Linked DNA regions of Homo sapiens: region 2 is linked to region 1. The links are contacts of gene promoters, found by promoter capture Hi-C in blood cells and fetal thymus (Javierre and others, 2016). All regions are on one chromosome and are shown on one strand. The core of a region is centred on a gene start or on the middle of the fragment in contact, and the rest is flanking DNA. Distances in the headings are between cores, read along the strand shown. Region 1 holds the start of ARIH1 (ariadne RBR E3 ubiquitin protein ligase 1). Region 2 overlaps ADPGK (ADP dependent glucokinase).

The links. Contacts are between HindIII fragments. The CHiCAGO score rates a contact against its expected background, and 5 or more counts as called.
Region 2: a contact is called between a fragment that was not itself captured here and the fragment with the promoter of ARIH1 in region 1, in 1 of 17 cell types (fetal thymus). The highest score is 7.3, in fetal thymus.

What each region holds. Positions count from the first base shown.
Region 1 is chr15:72,472,797-72,475,807 of GRCh38, forward strand. It overlaps ARIH1 (ariadne RBR E3 ubiquitin protein ligase 1), which reads left to right and starts at 1,534. Exons shown (of 14, transcript NM_005744.5): 1 at 1,534-2,218. The coding sequence starts at 1,844. It overlaps TMEM202-AS1 (TMEM202 antisense RNA 1), which reads right to left and starts at 1,443. Exons shown (of 4, transcript NR_135678.1): 1 at 1,079-1,443. RefSeq lists enhancers at 898-997, 2,448-2,657 and silencers at 1,238-1,577, 1,429-1,625, 1,668-1,897. The HindIII fragment of the contact is 10,721 bases long and covers 1-3,011 here.
Region 2 is chr15:72,766,861-72,769,915 of GRCh38, forward strand. All of the region lies in intron 3 of ADPGK (ADP dependent glucokinase), which reads right to left. Among named protein-coding and RNA genes, the nearest start is that of ADPGK-AS1, 14 kb to the right of the region's middle. The HindIII fragment of the contact is 1,678 bases long and covers 643-2,320 here.

The DNA.
Region 1 (3,011 bases), core at 284-2,783:
AAAAAAACAAACAACAACAACAACAACAAAAACCTAGACTACCAGTATTGAGGTTAAATGCTTTACTTTGTAAATCCTGAGGTTAAGAAATATAATTATCGGTATTTTAAAACTTACAAAATGGACAAATTGGAAGAGGCTTTTTAACATTATAATGGAATTTTTCACTTTTCAAAATCAATTTCCAAAGGGAACCTATAGGTTGAACAGTAAGATTTATCAACAAATCAGGGGTTTTGATTTTAAAAGGTTTTCAATCTGGCCAATTCTTCAGATTATCTCAAGAGGGAGCCTTCTTATGCCTCTTCTTCCTTCATAACACTTCTCTGGCTCGCATGTCCTGTTTGCAAAGATTTAAGCCCACTCTTAGGCATAAAATGCTCTTAACTGACATGACCCCTGACTAACTTGCCTAATATTTTGCCATGTACCCTCCATGCACTTTAAGCTCCCCAAACTATTACTTACTTGACACCTTCTGCGCTTTTGCTTGTTCTCTGCGGCTAGACCATCTTCCCTACCTTCTCTGTTGAACTCCTAGCCATTCATCAACACTCAGCTCACATAGCACACTTTCAGATGAGATTCAAGCATTATCTCTCTGGCTACATTTGGCCCTTGTAGATATTTCTATTATTGCCTGTATTTTGTTGAAGCATTCATGTCTTTTATGTACTACATAGTACATAATATATCTACATTACAAAGCATTTTTATGATTCATGTTTTGGGGCATCCAGCGGTTAAAATAGGGCAAGGGTTATGTGGTCTTGGCCAGGTCCCTTTTCCTTTCTGAGCTTCAGGTTCCTCAGGTATAAAATGGGTACTATGGCTCCGTGAAGATGAGACAGAATATATGTAAAGCCCTTACACAGTGCTCAATTCATGAAAATCATCGCTGTTTACATTGTTTAGGGCCCTCAAGAGGCGCTCTTGTCAGCGGGGTGGAGGAAATGCCTCTTTAAAATGACGTCATTATAGGAGACTTAAAAACCACTGCACGTCTGTACAAGTGGACAGAATCACACAGCTACCTAAAGTGGGTTCACCTGTCATACAGTTTAGAGGTTCCACTTACAACAGGTTTCCATCAGTAGCCAAAGCAACAGAAATTTTAGCTTAACGGCTGAGGGCTTCCGGGATTACCGCAGGGCGGGCGGGAAGCGCCTTTCCGCTCCGGAGGGAAGGCCGCGTCCCCAAGGGACTGCCTAAGTGGGCTGGATCCCTATGGCCTGCGGCAGACACCACCACGTAGGCGGTCCAGGGGTCCCTCTCTCGGTGACTGGTGACCAGGAGGCCGCAATCTCTTCACATAAAAGGTCTACGGGTTTCCGCTCGGCCCTCACAGCGGCAGCGGATCGAACCAGGAAAGCAATTCCCGCTCGGCTCCCCTCGGGTCCCAGGCCCAGGAAGGCCGGGCCGTGGGGTCTCCCCGGGCTCCACGCAGGGGCGGTGGGGCGGGGCGCAGTGACGCAAAGAGGAGTGACGCGACGACGCAGCGCGACGCGGTGACGCACGCCCCTTTGTTGGCTCAGTAGCGATAGCAGCGGCCGTGGAGGTGGCGTTGGGGACTGTTTTCTCTCGGAGGCCGGAGCGGAGCCGCGTCTGACTGAGGCGGGCAGCAAGCGGCCCCCTCGCTCCCTCCCTCCCTCCTCCGCGCCCTCCCCGCCGCCACCAGCCGTCAAACGCCAACCGCCGCTCCTGGGGAGGAGCCGCGGCTCGCGGGGCCGGAGCCAGGCCTGCGTCCGGACATCAGCCGGAGCCGGAGCGAGAGCCGGGGCCTCGGCGTCCCCGCCCTCTCCCCGCCTCGGCCAGCGTCCGCCGGGCCCCCGCGCGTCGCGCCATGGACTCGGACGAGGGCTACAACTACGAGTTCGACGAGGACGAGGAGTGCAGTGAGGAGGACAGCGGCGCCGAGGAGGAGGAGGACGAAGACGACGACGAGCCGGACGATGATACCCTGGATCTGGGCGAGGTGGAGCTGGTGGAGCCCGGGCTGGGCGTCGGCGGGGAGCGGGACGGACTGCTGTGCGGGGAGACGGGCGGTGGCGGCGGCAGCGCTCTGGGGCCCGGCGGTGGCGGCGGCGGCGGCGGCGGCGGTGGTGGTGGCGGGCCGGGGCATGAGCAGGAGGAGGATTACCGCTACGAGGTGCTCACGGCCGAGCAGATTCTACAACACATGGTGGAATGTATCCGGGAGGTCAACGAGGTCATCCAGGTGAGGGTGGCCGCCGCGCCAGCTGGACCGGGCCCGACGGGGGAGCGGATTCAGGCGGCACGCGCGGTCCCGAGGGACAGGCCTGGGCCTGGTGCGCAGCCTAGCCCGGTGCCTCCCGGCCTTGTCTTCTCCGCTGCCTCTGCTGGGGATAGAGGGTGTCGAAAGCAGAGGTTCGCCGATTAGCCGGGTGTGGGGAGGTGCGCTGGGGGCGGTGCTTCCCAAGTCCTGCTATGGCGGAGGCCTTCGGTCGCCTAAGCCTTCTCTTGCGGGCAATTTCTGCCAGTCCCTGGGCCGGGTGTCCTTTCTCTGGCCGGGCGATCGCCTACTGGGGCGGGGCGGAGGAGGTGGGGTGGAGAAGAGGAGTCAGGAAGAATTGGGCCCTGACGGGACTTACCCCGGCCGTAGCCTCATTTGAGCACTTTTGGAAGGGATTAGAGTAGGCCTAAGAGCAGCTTGGTGTACAGTTGCCCCAAGTGGGCACCAGTTAATAAAGAAATGGATCTTGGCAGTCTCAAGTGCCTACTTAAAGGTGGGGGAAGGGAAGTATTTCTCGGAAGAGGTGCTGATGGGCCTTCTTTTCAGATGGTGAGGCTTCTGCTTACATCTTTTTTATGTCTTTGCTGTTTGGGACCTAATTGCTACTTTTTCTAGTCGTAGCAGATGACTTGCTTGAAGCTGTTGGAATAGTTACTGCATATTGCATACCCTTCCTTGTAGCTAAAACAACAACAAAACGCAGTGTTGTCTAATATTGGACAAGACTCTATTGTGAGTTAGAAAGCAGAGGTTTTCT
Region 2 (3,055 bases), core at 232-2,731, 290 kb after region 1:
AGAAAAAGAGGGACAAAGATAGAGATGGGGCAAACAGCAAACAAATAGCAAGATGTTAGATTTAAACCTAACCTGATATATCAATAATCACATTAGATGTAAATGGTCTAAACACTCCGATTAAAAGGCAGAGATTGTCAAAGTGGATTAAAAAGCAAGCCCCAACTATACGCTGTCTATAAAAAATACACTTTAAGGTAAAAAGATGCAAATAGATTAAAAGCACAAGGACAGAAAAAGATATACCATGCCAATACTAATCAAATGAAAGCTGGAATGGCTATTTCAATCAAAATAGATTTCAGAGCAAAGAATATTATGAAATGATTTTATTTATCCCTAGTAATGATAAAGGAATTAATTCATTAAAGGGATGTAACAATCCTAAACATTTATGTACCTAATAAGAGTTTCAAAATACATAAAGCAAAAAGTTACAGAACTATAAAGGAAATAGACAAGTATCCAAAATTACAGTTGGAGACGTCAACATACCTCTTAATAACTGACAGATCAAATAGACAAAAAAAAAAAAACCAATAAGAATATAGAAGACTTGAACAACACTATCAATCAACTTCATCTAATTGACATTTACAGAACACTCGACCCAACAACAGAAAGGCTTATGTATATTCTTGAAGCTTTCAAGTACACACAGAACCTCACCAAGATAGAATATTCTGCACCATGAAAAAGGTCTCAAAAACTTAGTAGGATTCAGGTCATAGAAAGCATATTTTCTGACCATACTGGAATTGAAATAGAAATCAGTAACAGAAAGACATCTGGAAAATCCCCAAATATTTAGGAACTAAATAACATACCTCTAAGTAGTCCATGAATGGGCTATTAAATGGCACATCTCAATAAATCAAAGGGATATTAGTATTTTGAAATGAATGAAAATAAAAATAATCCATCAAAATCTTTGGGATGCAGCTAAAGCAGTACTTAAGGGGAAATTTATAGCACTAAACCCCTATATGAGAAAACAGGAAAGGTCTCAAATCAATGATTGTAGCTTCTCACCTTAAGAAACTAGAAAAAGAGCAAGTCAAATCTGAAGCAAGCAAAATCCAATGAAAATAGAAAAACAGAGAAAAATAAATTCACCAAAAGCTAATTACTTATTAAAAAGAGCAATAAAATTTATAAACCTCTAGCCAAGCTGATCAGGAAAAAAAAGAAGATACAAATGACCAATATCAGGAATGAGAAGGAAAACATCATTACAAATTGTAGAGATCTTAAAGGAATAATAGAATACCATAATTAACTTTATGCCAATAAATCCAACAACTTAGATGAAACAAATTCCTTGAAAGATACAAACTACTAAAGCTCATTTAAAAAAAAAAAAGGAAAATCTGGATTTCCCTATATCTATTAAAGAAATCAGTTATTTAAAATCTTCCTACAGAGAAAACCCTGGGCCTAGAAGGCTTCACTAGAAGGCTTAAATTCTATAAACATTTAAGGAAGATACAATACCAATGCGACACTCACTCTGTTTTAAAAATTGAAGAAAGGGCCAGGTGTATTGGATGAATCCAAGCACTATGGAAGGCTGAGGCAGGTGGATTACTTGCAATCAGAAGTTGGAGACCAGCCTGGCCAACACAGTGAAACTCCCTCTCTACTAAAAAATACAAAAATTAGCTGGGCATGGTGGCACACACCTGTAGTCCCAGCTACTCGGGAGGCTGAGGCATGAGAATCACTTGAACCTGAGAGACGGACATTGCAGTGAGCTGAGATCGCCACCACTGCACTCCAGTCTGGGCAGAGCGAGACTCCATCTTAAGAAAAAAAAAAAATTGAAGAGAAGATAGGTGTGGTGGCTCACACCTGTAATCCCAGCACTTTGGGAGGCTAAGGCAGGCGGATCGCTTGAGGTCGGGAGTTGAGACTAGCCTGGCAACATGGTGAAACCTCAAGTCTACAAAAAATACAAAATAATTAGCTGGCTGTGGTGACGTGTCTGCAATCCTAAATACTCAGGAACTCGGCTGAGGTGGGAGGATGGCTTGAGCCCAGGAGGCAGAGGTTGCAGTGAGCCGAGATCATGCCACTGCACTCCAGCCTGGATGACAAGGCCAGATCCTGTCTCTCAAAAAAAAAAAAAAAATTGAAGAGGGGGAAACACTTTCCAACTTATTCTACAAGGCCAGTATTGCCCTGACAGCAAAACCACAGACATTACAAGAAAAGAAAAATACAGACCAATATTATTCTTGGGCATTGATGTAAAAATTTTAAACACAATTTTAGTAAACTGAATATGTGAAAAGGATAATGAATACATCAGAACAAAGTAAGCTTTATCCTAGAGATGCAAGGTTGGTTTAATATGTGAAAGTCAATATAATTACCATATATCAAACTAAAAAACAAAAAACCACACAATAACCTCAGTAAATGCAGAATTTGACAAAAGCATTTGACAAAATAAAATAACTATTCCTAATTCTTGCCTAATTCCACAAGTATATATTTTTTTGAGATGGAGTCTTGCTCTGTCGCCCAGGCTGGAGTGCAGTGGCGCAATCTCGGCTCACTGCAACCTCCGCCTCCCGGGTTCGAGCGATTCTCCTGCCTCAGCCTCCTGAGTAGTTGGGACTACAAGCGCCTGCCACCATGCCCAGCTAATTCTTTGTATTTTTAGCTAAGACAGGGTTTCACCATGTTGGCCAGGCTGGTCTTGAACTCCTGACCTCAGGTAATCCGCCTGCCTCGGCCTCCCAAAGTGCTGGGATTACACAAGTATATTTTTTAAAGGCACGGTTCCTCTCCTGAAATTTGGCTTCTATTCTATCATTCCACTAAACCTGCCTTTACTATATTCACCAGCGTCTATTTCAAAGATGCAATATAGCATGGCTATTAGGAGAATGGATTCTGAAGCTTGACTACTTGGGTTCAATTCCCACTCTACTCATTATCAGGTATGTGATTTTCACCAGTTTTAACTTCTCCATGCCTCATTTTTCCTATCTGCAAAATGGGGATAATAAAAAGACTTCCCTTATAGGGCCCTATGAAGATTTAAATT